Linked DNA regions of Homo sapiens: all the other regions are linked to region 5. Evidence: promoter capture Hi-C in human tissues and cell types (Jung and others, 2019). All regions are on one chromosome and are shown on one strand. The core of a region is centred on a gene start or on the middle of the fragment in contact, and the rest is flanking DNA. Distances in the headings are between cores, read along the strand shown. Region 1 overlaps CLYBL (citramalyl-CoA lyase). Region 2 overlaps CLYBL (citramalyl-CoA lyase). Region 3 overlaps CLYBL (citramalyl-CoA lyase). Region 4 overlaps CLYBL (citramalyl-CoA lyase). Region 5 holds the start of GGACT (gamma-glutamylamine cyclotransferase). Region 6 overlaps CLYBL (citramalyl-CoA lyase). Region 7 overlaps CLYBL (citramalyl-CoA lyase).

Region 1 (2,972 bases), core at 225-2,724, 960 kb before region 5:
ACAGGGATAGTCATACCATAGTAATGACGTAGCTGTTAAAAAGAATAAGGTAGTTCCCATAAATGGTAGAATAGCTTGATTGTACTAATCCCCCTGTATTTTATGTAGATTTGTAAGATTCACACCAAATTTTTTTTTTTTGAGTTGGAGTCTCGCTCAGTCGCCCAGGCTGGAGTGCAGTGGCGTGATCTCGGCTCACTGCAACCTCCACCTCCCGGGTTCAAGCGATTCTTCTGCCTCAGCCTCCTGAGTAGCTGAGACTACAGGCACGCACCACCACGCCCAGCTAATTTTTGTATTTTTAGTAGAGACGGGGTTTCACCATGTTGACCAGCCAGGATGATCTCGATCTCTTGACCTCGTGATCCACCCGCCTCAGCCTCCCAAAGTGCTGGGATTACAGGCGTGAGCCACCGCACCTGGCCACACACAAAGTATTTTTAAAAACTATTGTAAGTCACCAGAAAGCAAGCAAAATCAGGCAGAAACTGGAGGAGAATCTACCTCAAAAGACAAACTGCGGTGGATAAGGTTTGCAGGTTTGTAGCTTTAACCTGAAGGTACTCCCAAAGCTAATTAAGTGGCCAAAAGCCGCAGCCTTACTGTATTGCGATGTTAGAGGGCAGAGGTAGAAACTGGCAGAGCTGGCAGAGCAGTCAGAAAATTAAGAGGGAAACCCCAGAGAGGAGGGAGCTACAGAGGGCACAAACACCCAAATCTGCATATGAAATTGCACAAATCCTTGGTTGGCTACTAAACTATGTGTCTGCAAACCTGGTGAAAAAGTAGCAGCTTTAAGCCTGAAAAAAACTAAGCAAAGATCTTGGCCACTGCCTACCATAGGGAAGACAGAACTTGGTATTTGTGTTCAGCCAAGTTAGCTGTCTGCTAGAACAAAAATTAGTCTTCAGAGAAATGTGCAGAATCTGGAATCTCTATAACATATCGATCATCATGTCCAGTGTCCTATCAGAAACCACTAGAGGCCGGGCATTGTGGCTCATGCCTGTAATCCCAGCACTTTGGGAGACCAAGGCAGACGGATTGCCTGAGGTCAGAAGTTTGAGACCAGCCTGGCCAACATAGTGAAACCCCATCTCTACTAAATATACAAAAAAAATTAGCCAGGTGTGCTGGTGGGCACCTGTAGTCCCAGCTATTCAAGAGGCTGAGGCAAGAGAATCCCTTGAACCTGGGAGGCGGAGGTTGCAGTGAGCCGAGATTGTGCCACTGCACTCCAGCCTGGTGACAGAGTGAGACTCCGTCTCAAAAAAAACAAAACAAAAACAAAAAAACCCCACTAGATAGAGGTAGAAATGGGAAAAAAGTAGATAATAGAAGCCAAACTCAAGATGATAGAGATGTTACAATTAATAGACAAGGACTTTAAAGCATCTACCATAAATACATTCAAAGACTTAATAAAAATGTATACACAATGAATGAACAGATAGGGAGTATCAGCTTAGAAATAGTAGCTATGGGCCAGGTGCAGTGTCTCACACCTGTAATCCCAACACTTTGGGGGCCCAGGTGGGTGGATCACTTGAGGCCAGGAATTCATGACCAGACTGGCCAACATGGCAAAACCCTGTCTCTAACTAAAAATACAAAAATTAGCCAGGTGTGGGAGACTGAGACAGGAGAATCTCTTGAACGTGGGAGGCAGAGGTTGCAGTGAGCCGAGATCATACCAGTGCACTCCAGCCTGGGCAACAGAGCAAGATCCTGTCTCAAAAAAAAAAAAAAAAAAAAAAAAAGAGAAGAGAAGAAAAGAAATAAGGCCAGGTGTGGTAGCTAATGCCTGTAATCCCAGCACTTTGAGAGGCAGAAGTGGGCGGATCACTTGAGGTCAGGAGTTTGATACCAGCCTGGGCAACATGGCAAAACCCCGTCTCTACTAAAAATACAAAACTGGGCATGGTGGCACGCATCTGTAATCCCAGCTACTTGGGAGGCTGAGGCACAAAAATCGCTTGAGCCTGGGAGGTGGAGGTTGCAGTGAGCCAAGATGGCACCACTGTACTCCAGCCTGGGTGACAGTGCAGGACTCTGTCTCAAAAAAAAAAAAAAAAATAGCTATGAAAAAGAGCTGAAAGGTTAGTGGTTGCCAGAGGTTGAGGGGAGGAGGGAATGGGAAGTGATTGTTTAATGCATATGGGGTTTCCTTTTGTGTTGATGAAAGTGTTCTTGAGCTAGTGGTGAGGCTTGTACAGCACTGTGAATTTTAAACTTTAAAATGGTGAAAATTGTGAATTTTATGAAAAGAGAGGTGAAAATACATGAACTAAATAGAAATTTTTACCAGTAAGCTCAATAGCAGACAAAGTTAACTGAAAAATAGATCAATCGTATGTACTCAGTTTGAGGAAAAGAAAAAGATTGAAGAAAAGCAAATAGAGCCTCAGAGACCTGTGGGACAGTACCAAGCAGTCTAACATGTATAGTTGGAGTTCCAGAAGCAAAAAAGAGATTAGGGCAGAAAAAATATTTGAGGGGATAATGACCAGAAATGTTCCAAATTCGGTGAAATCCATTAACTCACTGATCCCTTAACAAACACTCAGCAAGATAAATTAAAACACACACATGCACATGAGAGCCACATTGCTGAAATCCAAAAATAAGAAAGTCCTGAAAGCTGCCTGAGAAAAAAAGAAGGTGCACAGAAGGAACAATAATATAACTAACAGCCGACTGCTTATCAGAAACAGTGGAGAGTAGAAGGTAAACGTATTGAAAGACAAAATATCAACCCAGGGTTCTACGTCCAGCAAAACTATCCTTCAAAATTGAAGCCCAAATAAAGACCTTTATAATTAAACAAAAACTGAGAGAATTTGTTGCAAAGAATCTGACTATGAGAAATGCTAAAGGAATTTCTTTAGGCTTAAGGGAAATAACCCCAGATGATAACTTGGATCTATAAAAAGAAATGAACCAGAAATGATGAAGAAAATAATCAGATAGAT
Region 2 (2,824 bases), core at 249-2,748, 900 kb before region 5:
CACTCTGAGCTAAGAAAAGGGTGAGAGCCCTGGGAGGAGACCTTCTTTCAATCCAGGCTACATGCTCTGAGTTTTTCCAGGGCATATATAGCTGCTCCATTTGGACTATGCTCCTAGACTGACATGGGCCTGACTCGCAGGAGCCGGCAGCTCCTAGTGCTGAGCTCACCGGCTCGGCCCAGCACCAGCACCACCTCCCCTCTGAGCATCTGGTGGCCTTGCTGATAACACAGTGACACAGCCATTTCCTTCTATAGCAGAAACATCTTTGGAGTTCTGTTTCCACAGTCCTTTGAGAGACACTCTCGAGGCCAGGAGCTGGCCTCAGACATAAAAGTATTTGTTTCAACAGAGAGAGAGAGAGAGAGAGAGAGACTCAGTGACTGCTTTTTGAGTGAATTGTTGTTGGCTCAGTTTCAGTAATGCAATGTTTTGCTTTAGATTAATTTACTAAGCAGTACTAAAGTATCATTTATATACATTATTGAATCTTGGGATGATTCTGTAAGCATTACTTTCTCCTGAAATCTCCACTTCTGTCTGGATAGTGGATTTTAGGATAGGTTTTTAAAATGGAAAACTTGACGCAGATTCAAATTTTCAACACAGCATTGAACGAATAGCATCAGTTGGGGACGAGCTATGCCACCAATTTAAAGTGTCTCAGCCGGGGTCAGAATTAGGAACTGTCTAAACAGGGAATTTCAGAAGGGCAGGGGAGGATATCAAGGCACAAATGGGAGGAAATAAGCCATTGTTCCTTTAGAAAGCTTAGTAACCTCGATAATGAGAGGCTATGAAATAGTTCTTTTTATAACTGTAACTTCTTAACTTCCCAGCCCTAATAGCTCCAAGGGTCACTTGCAGAGAGCTCCGGGGCTACACCTGCCTTGCATAGATTAGGGCCCGCTGCAGCTGTCTTCATTTGCAAGACTAAGGTGTAGCTCCAAGAGGCTGTAGGTCTCAGCATGGAGCACTCCTCCTCAATCTCAATAGGCTGGTGTTGCGGATTAAGATGGCCATTGCAAGCCAGGCTCAGAAATTGCAAGATGAGGCAGGTAACGATTTCCTGGGTTTTATGTATCAGGCCTTATGAGGTATGAAGCGGGAAACCTTTTATATGCCTGCCTTGAATTAGCCATACCTTTTACAATCAGCTCTGTTGAAGAGCAGCTGCCTGGACTATCTAGCATACCCATGGGCCAGGCATGCCTTTGGCACACACACAGGTTTGTAAAGAGCTTGTGAATCTATAGGATGATCTCTTGGTGAGGACAGAAGGGACCCATAGCTAGTCAGCATCGGACTGAGGGCTGGATCCACTTTTTCCTGTAATGTGCGTTTGTTTCACAGAAAATACAATTAGGATAATTCTTGTGTGTTCTCTACAGGAAGGAAGTAGTATACTGCTTGTGAATGGTAGGCTAAATGAGGGAACCATTAAAGGGTTTTTAATAGACTTTTGAACCAAAAGACATAAGGGACTATACTTACATTGCCTTAACTGAGAAATGTTTTGCAGTGTGAGAAGACTTAATCAAATCTTCATTACATACCTGGTCAGGGACCAGGCTGAATGTTTCTTTAAGCAATTGGATAAAATGCACATTGAAGACTTGTTAGTTATGTGAGAATATGTCTGACATGCTTATCATCTCTCCTGCGGGTGCCTGAGTATCAGATACTTGGTTTACTGTGTTGGGTTGAATGCTTCTGTTCTAATTTCTAATGAACTTTACCACCAGACTACTTGATCATGACTAAGCCCAGGAACAATGCAAATGGAATTGCCCCCTGATGGGGAGGAATGGGCCCAGATGGCCCTTAAAAGGTGATAATTAGGAAATATAGCATATCTGAGTAGCTAGAAAGAGAGAAACTTGTTAAAGACAGTCAATCTGTTTGAAGCAACGGTCTTTCCCTTAATTATATGCATTTTCATTTAGAGTTGCTTTAAAGTAAAATTTTTCCCAGGAAAAATTTTTATTAGTAGTGAAAACCTAGAAACCACACACATTTTTTGCTACTCTGTTTCAGATTATTGAAAATTCCTTCCTTCATACATTTTTTTTTGGTTTCCAGATCTGTGTAACAGACTCGCTGTGTGTGTTTTAGGGGCCGTTTTAGGTTATTTTAGCTCTTATGCTAAAACAGTGGGGGAGCGATTAAAAGTGAGAAAAATATTAGTATATATTTGTAAACTGAGCTTTTAAAATTAAAATAGTTGCAGGATATTACAGTCTGTGATTTCATATACTTTGTAAGATTGCCTTAAATGTATTGCCTTCTTGGCAGCATAATGCCAGATTTTTCTCCAATATGTCATTAAAATAATTTTACATATAACAAGTTGAACTTTTTAAAGACTTATATTTTAATCTGAATTAGCATATTTACTAATTATATTACTTATTTGGCTTTTCTTTAGTCCGATTCTTTTTTTTTTTTTAGTGTACAAACTTGGCATTACTCTTTAAGAATAACAAGTGAACTGGAAATGAGAGGGTGGTGACATGAAGAGAGAGAGAAGAAATACATTCCTTATATCTCTTCCAGCTCCTGCATGGAATGGAGGATCTGACAGTGGCCGTTCCTGGGTATTAAAGCCAGTGCAAAAGATAGAGCGTCCAAAAGGCAACTTCTTCCTTATTTGTGAAGTCAGAAAGTAAAATTTACATTGAAGTGCTAAGCTACATTATTCTGAATATTTTGGCAGTCATATTTGGGCAGATGAGTTGCTTTCCTGAAATTACTCAGCACCGTCATTCATCCTGACAAAAGCTAGTGGTACAGATGCACCTTTGGGACTGAGGCCAAGGTGAAA
Region 3 (3,027 bases), core at 500-2,999, 790 kb before region 5:
CAGTAGAGGGGGCAGGGGAAGCACCTGGTTGAGTGGGGATCAGAGCAGCCGCTCTCTTCTCAGCCAGCTGCTCCACGTGGCAGAGTACTCAGGACAACCAGGAGGGCCGCCTTGTTGCAGCTGCCTTCCTCGGTGAAACACAGAGGAAGGCAAATGCCTTCTAAGTGGCAGTCAGTGCTTTGGCAATCCCTCCACCCCACACCCCACCCTACGCCCCACCCCTGGAGTTTCTCAACTGGGCCATGCTCTTTGAATGCTTCTCCTGCCAAGGCCTAAAAGAAGGTGAGTGGTTGTGGAGGCGAGAACAACTGGAGGCTGTGCTGTAGAGAAGGGAGTGCAGCTATGACCCCCACAGTGAGCCCCTTCCTAAGTGCCTCTTCCCCAAACAGAAATTCCTGCAAGGCCTCCTGTAGTCACCTGTTAGACTGCAGAACCGGGGAGGCACTCCATTTGTCAGTGTGAGTTGCTCAGAAAGAAACGCCCAATATCATTCAAAGTTATTGGCTTATTATTAGTCTTTATTATTAATTTATTAGTACTCTTTATTATTATTACTTTAATTGCCATACAGATGGAGGGTCCTTTCCACCTGAGCATATATATTCTCTCTACTTTGTGCTCTCATTTATACTTCTTCTTGTGCACATGTGCATACATAACACACACACACACACACACACACACACACACACAAAGTACGTAGACCTTAAAGCCCCATTTATGCTTACATAGACACACCGTACACATACACGAATCCATTTGGCTAACTTTTAAATTCCTCAGTGCTGTCACTTTTGTTGAAATAAATTAGTGGAGTGGCTAGGTGTATACTTCCCACAGCGAGCCAGTGAACTAATGTGCAGGGAATGATTAAATGTATACAGGGGCATGGGGAGCCAACTCCTCTTCAATAGGGGTGTGAAATTAGGATGGGAAGGCTCCTCTCCCAGGTGCCTTGCTTTTATTAAAAGACTTAAGAGCTCAGGAGATGTCTTCAATAGGAATTAGGATATCTGAGTCTTTCTGGAACAGTGTGGAAAGCTGAACTGTGCTTAGGAACTCTGCAAGGTCTTTTTGATCCTTAAAGGTTCTGATATAAAAACCTATCCAGGTTTTTATAAAAGTAGTAAAGTGTTTTCAGTCTTTTATTAATCTCTTCATACCCTTAAATAACCTTTCCCCTTTTGAACAGTAATTGTTAAAAAATAAATAAAAAACAACAAAAAATTTTTTCTCATTGTTTTATTCTTCAAACCAGGCATCCTCTTAATGCAAGGATTCAAATATCTCTATTAGGGTCATAATAGTCAGCAATTTCCATTTAATGAGATCAGCAAAGTCTCTTTTCAAAGAGATGCAGGCTTTAAATTGCCAGTTATTTCTTTTCCTGCAATTCCTAGGAATCCAATTAAGTAAGACTGAGTATGATCTATAATGTGATATATCTGGCTACAGAAAGCCCGGGCCTAGGCAATAAAACAGATCTTTGAGCTCCAGCTCAAAATTAAGATTAAAAAAAAAAAAAAGAAAGAAAATGCAGCTTAAATGATTCAAAGCTTTATAAATGTGGAAACTGCATCCATTTCCTCTAATATGAAGTAAGAAATAGCTTCGAGACTATGGTGAAAATCATTAAAGTTACTTATTCCAAATATAGCTACTAATTAAAATCTCTCCGTTGGACCAGGACCACAGGTGATTTTTACAAAATAAATTTAAGAGGTTTTGGTTTGCTAAATCTGTGACTAACGAATCAAATATGTGGCCAGGCGCCGTGGCTCATGCCTGTAATCCCAGCACTTTGGGAGGCCGAGGCAGGCAGATCACCTGAGGTCAGGAGTTCGAGATCAGCCTGGCCAACATGATGAAACCCTCTCTGCACTAAAAATACAAAAATTAGGTGGGCATGGTGGCACACACCTGTAATCCCAGCTTCTGGGAGGCTGAGGCAGGAGGATCACTTGAACCCAGGAGGTGGAGGTTGCAGTGAGCCAAGATTGCACCACTGCACTCCAGCGTGGCTGACAAGAGCAAGACTCCATCTCAAGAAAAAAGATTCAAGTGTATATAACCACTGCCAAAATAAAGAGAAGATAGTGTGAAATCATGCAGAGAACATGCTTCATATCAAAACATAGTATTCTTTTCAGTTTTTAAAAATTTCATTTGCCACAATTTATAACAGTATTAAATACTATATTTTCATTTATTATTATTATTATTATTATTATTTTGAGATGGAGTCATATGCTGTCACCCAGGCTAGAGTGCAGTGGTGCTGTCTTGGCTCACCACAACCTCCACCGTCTGAGTTCAACCAATTCTCATGCCTCAGCCTCCCGAGTAGTTGGGATTACAGGCATGTGCCACCACACCTGGCTAATTTTTGTATTTTTGGTAGAGGCAGGATTTCACCATGTTGGCCAGGCTGATCTAGAACTCCTGACCTCAGGTGATCCATCTGTCTTGGCCTCCCAAAGTGCTGGGATTATAGGTGTAAGCCACCACACCCAGGCTAAATACTATGTTTTTAATAATAAATCAGTGGGTGTATTTTAAGTCATAATTTAGTATTCTGATTTAGAGACAGAGTTCAGCAATAATATCATACTTTTGCCATGTATTTTTAAATATATCAAAGCTTCTCAGGATGGTGGTAGTGGTGGTTTAAATCTTATTCTGTACCGGCTATGCAGGCCGCATGGTGTTTTGCTGATAACAGAGGAGGAAAGTGTGGCTCGTGAGGAGCAAATGTCAAGTCAGGAATTAACTCAAGACACAGCCTGCCCTTCTACTAAAAATGTGCTATTTCAAATATGTTTTTGCAATTTCCTCCATGTAATGCAGTTGTGTTAGCCATTTATTGGTCAGAAATTAACCTCCAAAAGTTAACAGTTGGGCCCTGAATTCTCAGCCAAGTCTAGTCTAAGAAGCAGCATATTCTTGGGCAAGTTATTGATTAACTCCAGGTAATTAAACCAAAAAGACTTTTCTAGGGCCAGGGATAGTGGCTCACACCTGTAATCC
Region 4 (2,874 bases), core at 292-2,791, 940 kb before region 5:
CTTCCTCTGCCTTCCAGTAGCTTTGCCCAATGTGATCTCTGCTCTTTGTACCCTGTGCTGTCTCCCATGTTAGATCCAACCACCTAGGTCATAGCGCTACTGCTGGTACCTGATTGCAGGCCCAGCATCTGTCTTGGTGCCAAGCACATGACAAGAACTGAATAAATAGGCCAGGTGAGGTGGCTCACGCCTGTAATCCCAGCACTTGGGGAAGCCAAGGCGAGTGGCCTGACGTCAGGAGTTCTAGACTAGACTGGCCAACATGGCTAAACCCCATCTCTGCTAAAAATACAAAAATTAGCTGGGCGTAGTGGCGCATGCCTGTAATCCCAGCTACTTGGGAGGCTGAGGTGGGAGAATCGCTTGAACCCAGGAGACGGAGGTTGTAGTGAGCCAAGATCACACCACTGCACTCCAGCCTGGGTGACACAGCGAGACCCCGTCTCAAAAAAGAATTGAATAAATATTTTTTGAGTGAAATGGAATTCTGGGTTGTGGCTTTCCATCAGTTAAGATTCTTGGTTGTGGCCAGGTGCAGTGGCTCACGCCTGTAATCCCAACACTTTGGGAGGGAGAGGTGGGTGGATCATGAGGTCAGGAGTTTGAGACCAGCCTGGCCAACATGGTGAAACCCCGTCTCTACTAAAAATACAAAAAAATTAGCCAGGCCTGGTGGCACGTGCCTGTAATCCCAGCTACTTGGGAGGCTGAGGCAGGAGAATTGCTTGAACTCGGGAGGCAGAGGTTGCAGTGAGCCGAGATCATGCCATTGCACTCCAGCCTGGGCGACAAAGCAAGACTCCATCTTGGGGGGAAAAAAAGATTCTTGGTTGTAAGCAACAGACACCACATCTGGCTTTGGCAAGAGGGGGTTTTCCTGGAAGGATATGGACACATTCACACCGTCGGTGGAAAGCAACTGTAGGCATGCCGACATGAATCCTTCTCCATTGTGTCCCTGCTCAGCCACGAGAACAGTGTGCTGCCAGGGTGCTCAGTCTGTAACTCTGCTCAGGATGCAGGCTCCAGGGAGGGAGTGTCCAACTGGGCTAATAGGGCCCACCCTTTGGCTCTGGGAGAGCTGGGCTCCTTGATGATAATCCCAGCACACTGTCAGCTGTGGGTAGGATGAGGCAAGTTCCTCAGGGGGTGAAGTGTGTTTTGGGATAGTCAACAGCCAGTGACTGTTCACCACAGGACTAAACCTTCCATTTCCAGTGCTCCAGTGCCCCAACTGGCCTGTCTGGTGTGATTTGCCAAGTGTTCTGAGCAAGCAGGGAAGTTGTCCATTAAAATACAGATATTGGCCAGACATGGCTCACACCTGTAATCCCAGCACTTTGGGAGGCTGAAGCGGGTGGATCACTTGCACTCAGGAGTTTGAGACCAGCCTGGGCAATATAGTGAGACCCTATCTCAATTAAAAAAATAAAAAGCAGATATCCTGGGAAGGGATAACACTATAGCCCCTGCTAGCCAGCATTGATTTGCCAAAAGTAGGACCTGTGGGTGCAGGATCCAGAGTAGCCATGGATGGATGAGGTGCGAAAGGGTCCCGAATGTTCCAGCAATGCTACCCAAATGGCAAGTGGTGTCGTGGCCTCTTTCACCTCCATACTCAGGGAGAAGCCACTCAGAGGCCTCCACATAACAGGCAGGCTCTCGCCTGGGTGTCGGAGGTGAGGATGCTACTGAAGCTTATTGCTTCTTAAGAATCAATCAAATCAAAACAATGGATGCCCTTCTCCCAAGTGGAAGGGCTGTGCTGGCCACCTTGTATGACTGACACAAAGTTGGGAAGAGTTGCAGTCATGAGCTGGGGAGACACACCCTAAAAGCAGATGAGCTGGTGGCGGTAAATAACACTCCCATGACGACAAGTGGGCTTTGCACGTGTGTGGTAGCAGGGCATGGCCCTGGGGGAGGTGGGGCTACCTGAGGAAAATCACAGGAGGCAGGAATGTATACTGTTTGTTGGGAAAAGACAAGCCAATCTGAAGGGCAAGGGTTTGTAGAGGGGAGTGGTGGAGAGTGAGGTTGGAAGGGTGTTTGGGTCCAGTTGTAGACAGCCTTGAATTCTAGGCAAAGACTTCAGATGTTGTTTTCTAAGCACTAGGAGCACCTGTGGATGTTTCAGAATGGGAGTATCATGATGGATGTACTATTTTTTAAAGAGCAGGAATAAGCAGCAGGCCACTGCTAAGGAATCTGTGTCATGAGGCTGTTAGCCTGGGGACAAGGAGGACCGGCCAAAAAAAAAAAAGTCCTGTATATAAGGGGGAGCACCCAGCACACTTAGGTTCCAGACCTCCATTCCTAGCAACTCACCTGTAACTCCTGGCAGGGGTCTCTGCCTCCCTCTACTCATCCAAAGATCATGGTGCTTGTTCACCAGCCTTATGATGATCCAAAGAAATAGTGATCTTTCATGTTTAAATAAACCTACTTAATTACGTGCATCTGTTTGGAAATTCAGACACACCACATGAGAAGCTACTGGGACTTTTTTCTCCTTTTCTTGGCTTCTCATTTGTTCTCTAGCTTTTTCTTTTTTTTTCATCCTGGCCAGTTATTAACCTTCTCCTCCACTTTTGAGTCTCATAATTGTCCAGATCTCCCAGGACGCTGACAGTGTGGTTTTGGTTCACTTGTTCCTTCTCCTGCTCAAATTTCAATTGATTCAAGGGTGATATGCTGGGTATGATGGGCTGGACATGCCCATTTTCATTCAACTCATCCATAACTAGGATATAAGTGAGGATACAGATTTGGGTGTTATGGCCAAAAGATCTTCAAATACAATGACTTTATCAAGGATAATTTCTTCCCCCCTCACTTGAAACATGGTTAGGTGGTGCAGGGCTGATAACGATG
Region 5 (2,700 bases), core at 53-2,552:
CTGGCTTCTTCTGGGAATAGTTTCAGGAAAACAAGGCATTTTGGGAAAATACGGGCAAACTGCAGGTGCTCTTCATCTGAGCATTTCAATAAATTGAATGAGGCCAGGGAAAAGTCTTCACTTACAGGTAAATGTACATAAGGACACCTACGTGTGTGTAAGACCTACACTTTAAATAGGTCACCTTTAGTTTTTCATTAATCATTTCTCCTGGGACATTTAGCAAAACGAATAACTTGCTTTTAAAAAAGGCCACAAATCCCGGGTGCAGTGGCTCATGCCTGTAATCCCAACATTTTGGGAGGCCAAGGCGGGCGGATCACGGGGTCAGGAGTTCGAGACCAGCCTGGCCAACATGGTGAAACCCTGTCTCTACTAAAAACACAAAAATAAGCTGGGCGTGATAGCAGGCGCCTGTAATCCCAGCTACCCGGGAGACTGAGGCAGGAGAATCGCTTGAACCCGGAAGGCAGAGGTTGCAGTGAGCCGAGATCGCGCCACTGCACTCCAGCCTGGGCAACAGGGCAAGACTTCATCCCAAACAATAAAAAGGGCCAGAAATCGACTGCATTTTCTTATCACTTAAATATTAAATCAACTAAGCGTGGAGTTAAGAAGCTGTGTTCAAAAAACACTTAAGTCTGCTTTTGAGCTTGTGGCGTTGTCCTTGGCCCACAGAGTAAAACAGCAATGATAACCATAATTAATAATCAAGGCAGTAAATTTCTTCAAAATTTCAGAAGTTTCACTAATGGCTCCAAAGAAACCTTAGATCAGAAATTCACAAGTGCCAGGAGACGTTTTTAGATTTCTTTTGCAGCTTCTAGTCTCCTTACAAACAGGAAATCTTTAAAATGAAAAACAATTTCTGAGAAGTGTTAGCCCGGTTCAGCTGAGGTCCTCTGAAAGCCAGCGTGTGGGCTGTCACGCTTCCTTTACAGGGAAGCAGCGCCCGTGCGTGAGGCGGTTCCTGGCTTTTACCGCCCTCTGCCCGTTCTGGCAATCGCGCCCGTGGCCCCCGCGCGGGGCAATGGAGGACGCGTTTCGGGGTCCACCGTCCCCTCCCTCCGGCTGGCCTCGCCGGCCGGCGGCGCCCCAGGCCTCCTCCCTCACCCGCGGGGACGCCGAGTGCTGCGGCCTCGACCCGGACGCCGCGCAGGGAGCGACGCCCCAGGTTCCCGCGGGCGCCAGGACACCCCGCCTGGGGGGCGGAGCAGGCGCAGCCCCGACCCCCGCCCGGGCTCAGCGCCTCACCTGCCGGCAGCCGGGGCTGTCGGGGAGGGCAGGGCCAGGGCGGAAATGCAGGGCCGGGCCCGCGCCTCTGCTCCCAGGCCGCCCCCGGCGGCGCCCCCTGCAGGCGGAACGCGAGGCCCGCCAGCCCCTGCGGCGCCCTCGCACACACGTGGCCGCTCGCACAACTGGCCGCCTAACAGCCAGACCCACCCACGCCGATGCCCGCCGGAGACGCCCCGCCGCAGACACAGCGCAACCAGCTTCACACACCTGGGGACGCCCCACAGAAGTCACATCCACCCTAACACACCTGGGCACTCAGGCTCAAGCCCCGACTGCATGGTGGACCCTGACACACCTGGGCCACACCCCACAAAACAGACTCACAGACGACTCCACAAGCTTGGGGACACGCCACATCAAATGGACACACATGCACACACAAATGAACCCAAGCGCAGACACACTTGGGGATGCCAACCATGTGTGTATCTATCACATCACACACCACCAAGGCCCCCCAGCTGGGCATGCACACAGCCCTGATACCGAGTCCAGACCGCCATCTAGTCACACTGCCCACTTACTTACCAATACTCTTAAAATGAAACTGTGGCCGAAGGAGACAATGGAAGGATGACATCACCTCTTCCCTAGCTCCAGGACTAATTTAAGCCCCAGAAATTATAGGACTGAGAACCAAAATCGAAAGAGAACATTTTCCCTAGAGACAATGGGTTAAAGCAATGCCACTTGGGGGCCAGGTGGTAGGAATGGTACAGCTATGGAGAGAGTGACACTTCTGTCTCTCCGAAAGACACAAATCTGTGTTTATCAGATTAGCAATAATCCCCCTTAATCATTTCCTGCCCTTTCTACTTTCTCATGGATGTGGACTGATTGAAACCTTTATATAAACTGGTTTTTATCCAAACGTTTCCAACAATGCAGATGTAATTGTATTTTGAACAGATGTACAATTCCAAAAGAAATCTAAACCATCAGGTACATAAGTCGTTGGTTTTCACAGTTTTTTCTTGTCTTGGACACTTCATAATTAAATTGAAATGTATTAAAAAACCTTGTCTAGCTCATATTAATATTTTTTTTTTTTTTTTTTTTTTTTTTGAGACGGAGTCTCGCTCTGTCGCCTAGGCTGGAGTGCAGTGGCGGGATCTGGTTCACTGCAAGCTCCGCCTCCCGGGTTCACGCCATTCTCCTGCCTCAGCCTCCCAAGTAGCTGGGACTACAGGCGCCCGCCACTACGCCCGGCTAATTTTTTGTATGTTTAGTAGAGACGGGGTTTCACCATTTTAGCCAGGATGGTCTCGATCTCCTGACCTCGTGATCCGCCTGCCTCGGCCTCCCAAAGTGCTGGGATTACAGGCGTGAGCCACCGCGCCCGGCCTCATATTAATATTTTTAAAGACAGCAGTAATTCTTAACTTTTTGAAGCGAAAGAATGAT
Region 6 (2,951 bases), core at 397-2,896, 760 kb before region 5:
GGGAAATGTCCTATTTTGTAAAGAGCAGCATTTCTACATTTTAAAAATCAGATGTTCTCAGTGGGGAGCAGGGTTTTCTCTTCGTCAGTGTTGGCTATTGCTAAGTGCGTCCCAGATTGAAAACCTAAATGAAATAACTACAAGGAAAGGCATGGGGTAAGCTTATGTTGGAAAAGGTGGAGGGAGACACACATATATAATACATACACCATTTATCTGGGAATTTAGAAAGCCTTTTCATGTCATCTTTTTTTCTTTCTTGCTCATTGCTTGTTATTTCACTGTGAGCCTTGCAAATATGGAGGGCGGCAGAGGTGCCAGGCTCCATCACGGTGTCCAAAAATTGGCTTTGTACATATGCTGAATTAGAGATTGGCTGGCAGAAGCAGTGTGCAGACCCTAGATTGGCAGGGATTCCTCGTGACGGAAGACAGGGCTATGAACCCACGGGATGTACTCTGAAGCCAGCAGCCATGCAACGTGCTGCATCCCCACATGCCAAAACCTGTTTTCAAATACATTCAGAATCTGCATCAGGCATCAGATCCCACCCAGGTAACGCCCTCCAAAACTCGAATCCCCTTTCCTTTCTCATGAGGAAGGGAATGTGTTGAACCTGTCACAGGACAGAGATTTGAAATTTTTCACCCAAGGCTCCAGGTCATTTTAGTCACCACCTCTTGTGAATAGGCACCGTAGCATCCAAGGAGGAAGGTAGGAATCTTGCAGATGCAAACCTTCCTGTTTTTTTTCTTCCTTGGAAATAAGCAAACTGCCAAGGCGGTTCTGATGCAGGAAGAATGAATGCAGTGAAGGAACACGTTAAGACAGCCGGAGCAGGGAAGTCCATGCCAAAAAGATCCGCCATCTGGGGCTTTTTTCTCACTGTGTCAACCAGAAAATGCCTCTCTCATGTACAAGTAGCTAGTTGGTGGCTTTACTCTTCCCAAGAGATCTACTTTATTTTATGGGCAATGATGAGTTTTAATAAAAGCAGGGTTGTTGTTGTTGTTGTCATTACTGATCTTGGGTTTCTGGTTTATCTTAGAATTGAGCACTAGAAAGGAAGTGAGGAGAATTATTTTCTAGACCAATAGGTGCTTTTGACTCAAATGATGACATTGGACACTTCTAGGAACCTTTAAAGTAGGGACATTAGCTCCAGTTACGTCACCTTTCCTCTAAGGGTACAGTGAAGGATCAGGAGCTGAACAAGCTGACCTCAGTCCCAATCAACTCCGAAATGTGACAGCTGATTAGAGCCTTGCAGCCTTTCAGGTACTGTTTAATCATTTACTCGCTTGAGTGTATAAGCTCCGTGAGAGCGGAGAGCCTGTCTGCCCATAGCACACACTCAGGAAATATTGTTGAATATGATCATTGGGTTGATGGTCTCACGGGGTGGCACCAAGGGGGCCAGCATGTCAAGCGTAATTCACACCGGAGCAAGCTTTGGGTCACATTCTGAATCATATGTGATGTAGTGAACAAGCTCTCGGATGGGCTTCAGGGGATGTGCGTTCAAGTCCTGGCTCTCCCCCCGGCATCAGAGTGACCTTCAGTCATTTGTTGATCTCTCTCTCGGACTTTTGTCTCCTTGTTTCTAAAATGACTAGATAATTGTAGAGCTTTCTTCAGCCCTAAAATTCTGTGATTCTGAAACTCAGCCAGTCATCTAAAAATGCATTTTCTGCATGATGAAAGATATTTATTAGGCCTAAGTGGAAGAGCCAGCATTCTTGATGAAAAGAATTACTCTATGCACACATCCTAAGGACAGTGGTTTAGATCAGTGCCCTCCTGGTAGAGATGAACAACACAACGGGAAGGACAGGCACTGACGCACATAAAGATGAGGAGGCTGAGCGTGGTTCCAGGCACCACTGCGGTATAGAAAGTGGCACCTAGAGCCAGCCAAGGACATAAAGATGGACTTGGAGACACTGGAGCAGTGTGGGTGCCCCTCAGCCCAGGAATGTTGCAGAGAGGAGTCATATGTGAGATTAGGGTTGCCCCAAGTTACCTCTAAGTTCTGTCCAACTCAACTACTCTGTGAGTCTGTGACAGTCCCTAGCTCTGTGTCCTAGGACACAGTGACACCCCTAGAGATCTTACCAAAGACCTCAAATAGTCCAGGCACTGTTCCTCTTAAGGGATGTAGAGAGGAGAGGGAGAGATGGAAAAGGGAGAACTCACCTTTGTTAACATACTGCTTTCTAATAACTCTTTTAAAGAAGTGTTCATTCCATTGTTCATGGAATATGCTTCCAGTCGTGGATTGCATTGAAAAGATAAGTCCATGTCCTAATCCCTGGGACCTGTGAATGTGACCTTATTTGGAAAAATGGTCTTTGCCGATGAAGTTAAGGATCTCGAGAAAAGACCATCATGGATTATCTGGGTGGGCCCAAAATCCAATGACAAGTGTCTTTTTAAGAGAAATCAGAGACACACAGAGGAGAAGACAGACACAGAAGAGAAGTCAGACACAGAAGAGAAGTCAGACACAGAGGAGAAGACAGACACAGAGGAGAAGGGCACATGAAGGAAGAGGCAGGGGTTGGGTGGCGGCAGCTGCAGGGACTGCCAGCAGCCAGCAGGAGCTGCAGGAGGCAAGGAGGATCCGCTAGAGAGGGACTGCGCCCTGCACACACCTCAAGTCCACATTTCTGGGCTCCAGAACTATGAAAGAATACATTTTTGTTGTTTTAAGCTGCCAATTTTATGGTCATTTGTTATGGTGGCCCTAAGAAACTAATACACCTCAGATATATTATCATTGATACCATTAATCAGGAGCTGCAAGGTCTCTTTTCCTAATTAACATCATGGTTGTTCTTACTAATAATAAGAATAAAAGAACTCTCAGGGAGGCAGGTGGAGGGAGAGCATCAGGATAAATAGCTAATGCATGCTGGGCCTAATACCTAGGTGATGGGTTGATAGGTGCG
Region 7 (2,906 bases), core at 180-2,679, 920 kb before region 5:
CAAAATAAACATTCGCTCTTAAATTTTACTAGTCAACTCATTTCACATTCACCTGATTCCCTCTAAAAACAAAAATCTTTCTACTATTCCAATTGGCAAATGGTCTGTTTTGGAACAAAAGGATAGATGCATTTGAAGAATTCTCTGGTCACCTGAGAAATGAAGGTTTGCCCATCATTTTTTATTAATGCTTGCCAAGTAATTAGGTATGAAAAGATGAGGAGCAAAAATAAATCTTCATCTTCAATAGAACATTAGAGGCTGGGCATGGTGGCTCACACCTGTAATTCCAGCACTTTAGGAGGCCGAGGTGGGAGGATTGATTGAGGTCAGAAGTTCGAGAACAGCCTGGGCAACATGGTGAAACCCTGTCTCTACATAAAATACAACAAATAGCCATACATGGTGGCACATGCCTGTAGTCCCAGCTACGTGGGAGGCTGGGGTGGGAGGATCGTTTGAGCCCAGGAGGCAGAGGTTGCAGTGATCCAAGATCATGCCACTGCACTCCAGCCTGGGCGACAGAGTGAGCCCTTGTCTTAAAAAAAAAAAATCTTTAATAGAACACTGGCGGCCGGGCATGGTAGCTCACGCCTGTAATCCCAGCACTGGGAGGCCAAGGCAGGTGGATCACCTGAGGCCAGGAGTTCGAGACCAGCCTGACCAACATGGTGAAACCCCATCTCTATTAAAAATACGAAAATTAGCTGGGTGAGATGGCAGTTGCCTGTGAATCCCAGCTACTCGGGAGGCTGAGGCAGGAGAATCACTTGAACCTGGGAGGCGGAGGTTGCAGTGAGCTGAGATTATGCCACTGCACTCCAGCCTGGGAGACAGAGCGAAACTCCATCTCAAAAAAAAAAAAAAGAAAAAAAGAATATTGGCTATTTGAGCAAGATGAATGTATTTTGGTAGATAGAAGAAAAATGAGAACTATCGCTCATCACTGCTGATGTCTAAATCCCCTCCCTGGGCATGAGGATGGTACAATGACACAGCAACCCCAGCCTGCCGGGCTTCTGGGATGCCAAGCTGGGGGTGTCCTGGCCAGGTCCAAGGTGCTGGAAGCCAATCCAGAAAATAGGATGAAGGGATAAAATCACACTCCAAGGCCGTGATATGATTGAATCAAGGTGTTAATCTAGGTGAAGAGTGCAGAAGCCAGATTCACTAGGGGCTCCAGGGCAGGACAAGCTGGTTCAGCGGGGAGAAGGCAGGAGGCAGATGCCCAAGAAGTGTGGGCAGATCTAGGGGTGACTTTATAGGCCCTCAGCTTTTTTTTTTTTTTGAGATGGAGTTTTGCTCTGTCACCAGGCTGGAGTGCAGTGGCGCGATCTCGGCTCACTGCAACCTCTGCCTCCCAGGTTCAAGCGATTCTCCTGCCTCAGCTTCCCAAGTAGCTGGAACTACAGGCATGTGCCACCATGCCCAGCTAATTTTTTTGTATTTTTAGTATAGAAGGGATTTTACCACGTTGACCAGGATGCTCTCGAGCTCTCAACCTCATGATCTGCCCGCCTCAGCCTCCTAAAGTGCTGGGATTACAGGTGTGAGCTGCCGCGCCCGGCCAGGTCCTTAGCTTTGAATGGGGAGTGAGGCATTAGGGGCATGGAGACACGTGAAGAACATGTAGCTTGTCCTTTCTTCCTTCCAGAGCTTTCTCTAGCCATTTGCAAAAATTCCACAAGCACATTATGCAGTCATTTTTCTAGGAACTGGAGAGAGGGGAGAGGTGGATGGGAGGGGAGGGTGTCATAAGCCTTGAAAAAGTTAGATATTCCAAAGAACCTTAGCTTTTCCCAAATAGGAAATGGAGAGTTGGGTGGTAGTTTCAAATCATTATTTCATTTTCTTTACCTCTGAAAAGATTTCTTAGTTTACTGAGAGCCTACCTTCAATTGCATGGATGTTGTACATTTTCTTTTTCATTTCCCATGAAGATCCCTATTTTTAGCTTTTAAGAGCTGTTACTCACAACTGAGATACAAACAGTGTTCTGCACCCCACACAGCATATATCTCATGATTAGTGACAGGGTTCCTAGAACTGCAAGACAAGTTTGGGCTTACTCAATCTGTTAAGTTTCCTTATAGGCATATTTTTTCATTCTATTGTTTTAGCAAGGGGCCTATTAGAAATTTCCATGTGTATAAATGACACTTTAAAGAGCTGGGTGCAGGCTGGGCGCCATGGCTTACGCCTGTAATCCCAGCATTTTGGAAGGCCGAGGCAGGCAGATCATTTGAAGTCAGGTGTTCGAGACCAGCCTGGCCAACATAGTGAAACCCCGTCTCTATTAAAAAAAAAAAAATGAAAATTAGCCAGGCATGGTGGCATGCACCTGTAGTCCCAGCTACTCAAGAGGCTGAGGTATGAGAATTGCTTGAACCTGGGAGGCGGAGGTTGCAGTGAGCTAAGATCGTGCCACTGCACTCCAGCCTGGGTGACAGAGCAAAACTCCATCTTAAAAAAAAAAGAGCTAGGTGCAGTGGTGCATGCCTATAGTCCCAGCTACTTGGGAGACTGAGGTGGGAGGATCACTTGAGCCCAGGAGTTTGAGGCTATAGTGAGCTATGATTGCGTCTGTGAATAGCCACTGCGGTCCAGCCTGAGCAAAGTAGCGAGACCCTGTCTCTAAAAAAGTAAAAATTAAATTTAAGAAGTTCTTCACCATCCAAGTTATGTTACGTGGAATTTCCCGTGGCAGTTTCCTGAAACATAACTTGTTTATGTTTCCTGAAACAAAACTTACCTGCAGTTTCTAGACACGTGCTCTAAAAACAGGCATCTACTGGCCTGTTTTAGGATTTAGAAATCTCTGCTCTGCCCTTCTTTCAACTATCCAAATGAAAAGAATGTTTTAACATTTCATATTTGTGAAAGTTTCCTCAATTACTGACTTTTTT

The links. The method cuts DNA at HindIII sites, captures the fragments that hold promoters and counts their contacts. A contact is called where the count stands out against the background at its distance.
Region 1: a fragment that was not itself captured here is called in contact with the fragment with the promoter of GGACT in region 5 in 2 of the 25 tissues and cell types used here (lymphoblastoid cells and thymus).
Region 2: a fragment that was not itself captured here is called in contact with the fragment with the promoter of GGACT in region 5 in 2 of the 25 tissues and cell types used here (dorsolateral prefrontal cortex and spleen).
Region 3: a contact is called between a fragment that was not itself captured here and the fragment with the promoter of GGACT in region 5, in 2 of the 25 tissues and cell types used here (hippocampus and spleen).
Region 4: a contact is called between a fragment that was not itself captured here and the fragment with the promoter of GGACT in region 5, in 1 of the 25 tissues and cell types used here (dorsolateral prefrontal cortex).
Region 6: a fragment that was not itself captured here is called in contact with the fragment with the promoter of GGACT in region 5 in 2 of the 25 tissues and cell types used here (IMR-90 fibroblasts and lymphoblastoid cells).
Region 7: a contact is called between a fragment that was not itself captured here and the fragment with the promoter of GGACT in region 5, in 1 of the 25 tissues and cell types used here (dorsolateral prefrontal cortex).

Annotation. Positions count from the first base shown.
Region 1 is chr13:99,631,476-99,634,447 of GRCh38, forward strand. The region is part of intron 1 of CLYBL (citramalyl-CoA lyase); the gene reads left to right. Among named protein-coding and RNA genes, the nearest start is that of MIR4306, 10 kb to the right of the region's middle. The HindIII fragment of the contact is 8,104 bases long and covers 1-2,972 here.
Region 2 is chr13:99,686,163-99,688,986 of GRCh38, forward strand. The region is part of intron 1 of CLYBL (citramalyl-CoA lyase); the gene reads left to right. It overlaps LOC124903199 (a long non-coding RNA gene), which reads left to right. Exons shown (of 2, transcript XR_007063848.1): 2 at 2,452-2,824. Among named protein-coding and RNA genes, the nearest start is that of CLYBL-AS2, 3.4 kb to the right of the region's middle. RefSeq lists enhancers at 1-665, 666-1,424. The HindIII fragment of the contact is 3,167 bases long and covers 1-2,824 here.
Region 3 is chr13:99,792,376-99,795,402 of GRCh38, forward strand. All of the region lies in intron 2 of CLYBL (citramalyl-CoA lyase), which reads left to right. The region is part of intron 1 of CLYBL-AS3 (CLYBL antisense RNA 3); the gene reads right to left. Among named protein-coding and RNA genes, the nearest start is that of CLYBL-AS1, 65 kb to the left of the region's middle. The HindIII fragment of the contact is 4,897 bases long and covers 1-3,027 here.
Region 4 is chr13:99,651,124-99,653,997 of GRCh38, forward strand. All of the region lies in intron 1 of CLYBL (citramalyl-CoA lyase), which reads left to right. Among named protein-coding and RNA genes, the nearest start is that of MIR4306, 9.5 kb to the left of the region's middle. The HindIII fragment of the contact is 3,879 bases long and covers 1-2,874 here.
Region 5 is chr13:100,587,487-100,590,186 of GRCh38, forward strand. GGACT (gamma-glutamylamine cyclotransferase) reads right to left here and starts at 1,303. Exons shown (of 3, transcript NM_001195087.2): 1 at 1,255-1,303. RefSeq lists a silencer at 936-1,455. The HindIII fragment of the contact is 6,002 bases long and covers 1-2,700 here.
Region 6 is chr13:99,828,535-99,831,485 of GRCh38, forward strand. The region is part of intron 2 of CLYBL (citramalyl-CoA lyase); the gene reads left to right. The region is part of intron 1 of CLYBL-AS3 (CLYBL antisense RNA 3); the gene reads right to left. Among named protein-coding and RNA genes, the nearest start is that of CLYBL-AS1, 100 kb to the left of the region's middle. The HindIII fragment of the contact is 5,772 bases long and covers 1-2,951 here.
Region 7 is chr13:99,667,733-99,670,638 of GRCh38, forward strand. The region is part of intron 1 of CLYBL (citramalyl-CoA lyase); the gene reads left to right. Among named protein-coding and RNA genes, the nearest start is that of CLYBL-AS2, 22 kb to the right of the region's middle. The HindIII fragment of the contact is 4,692 bases long and covers 1-2,906 here.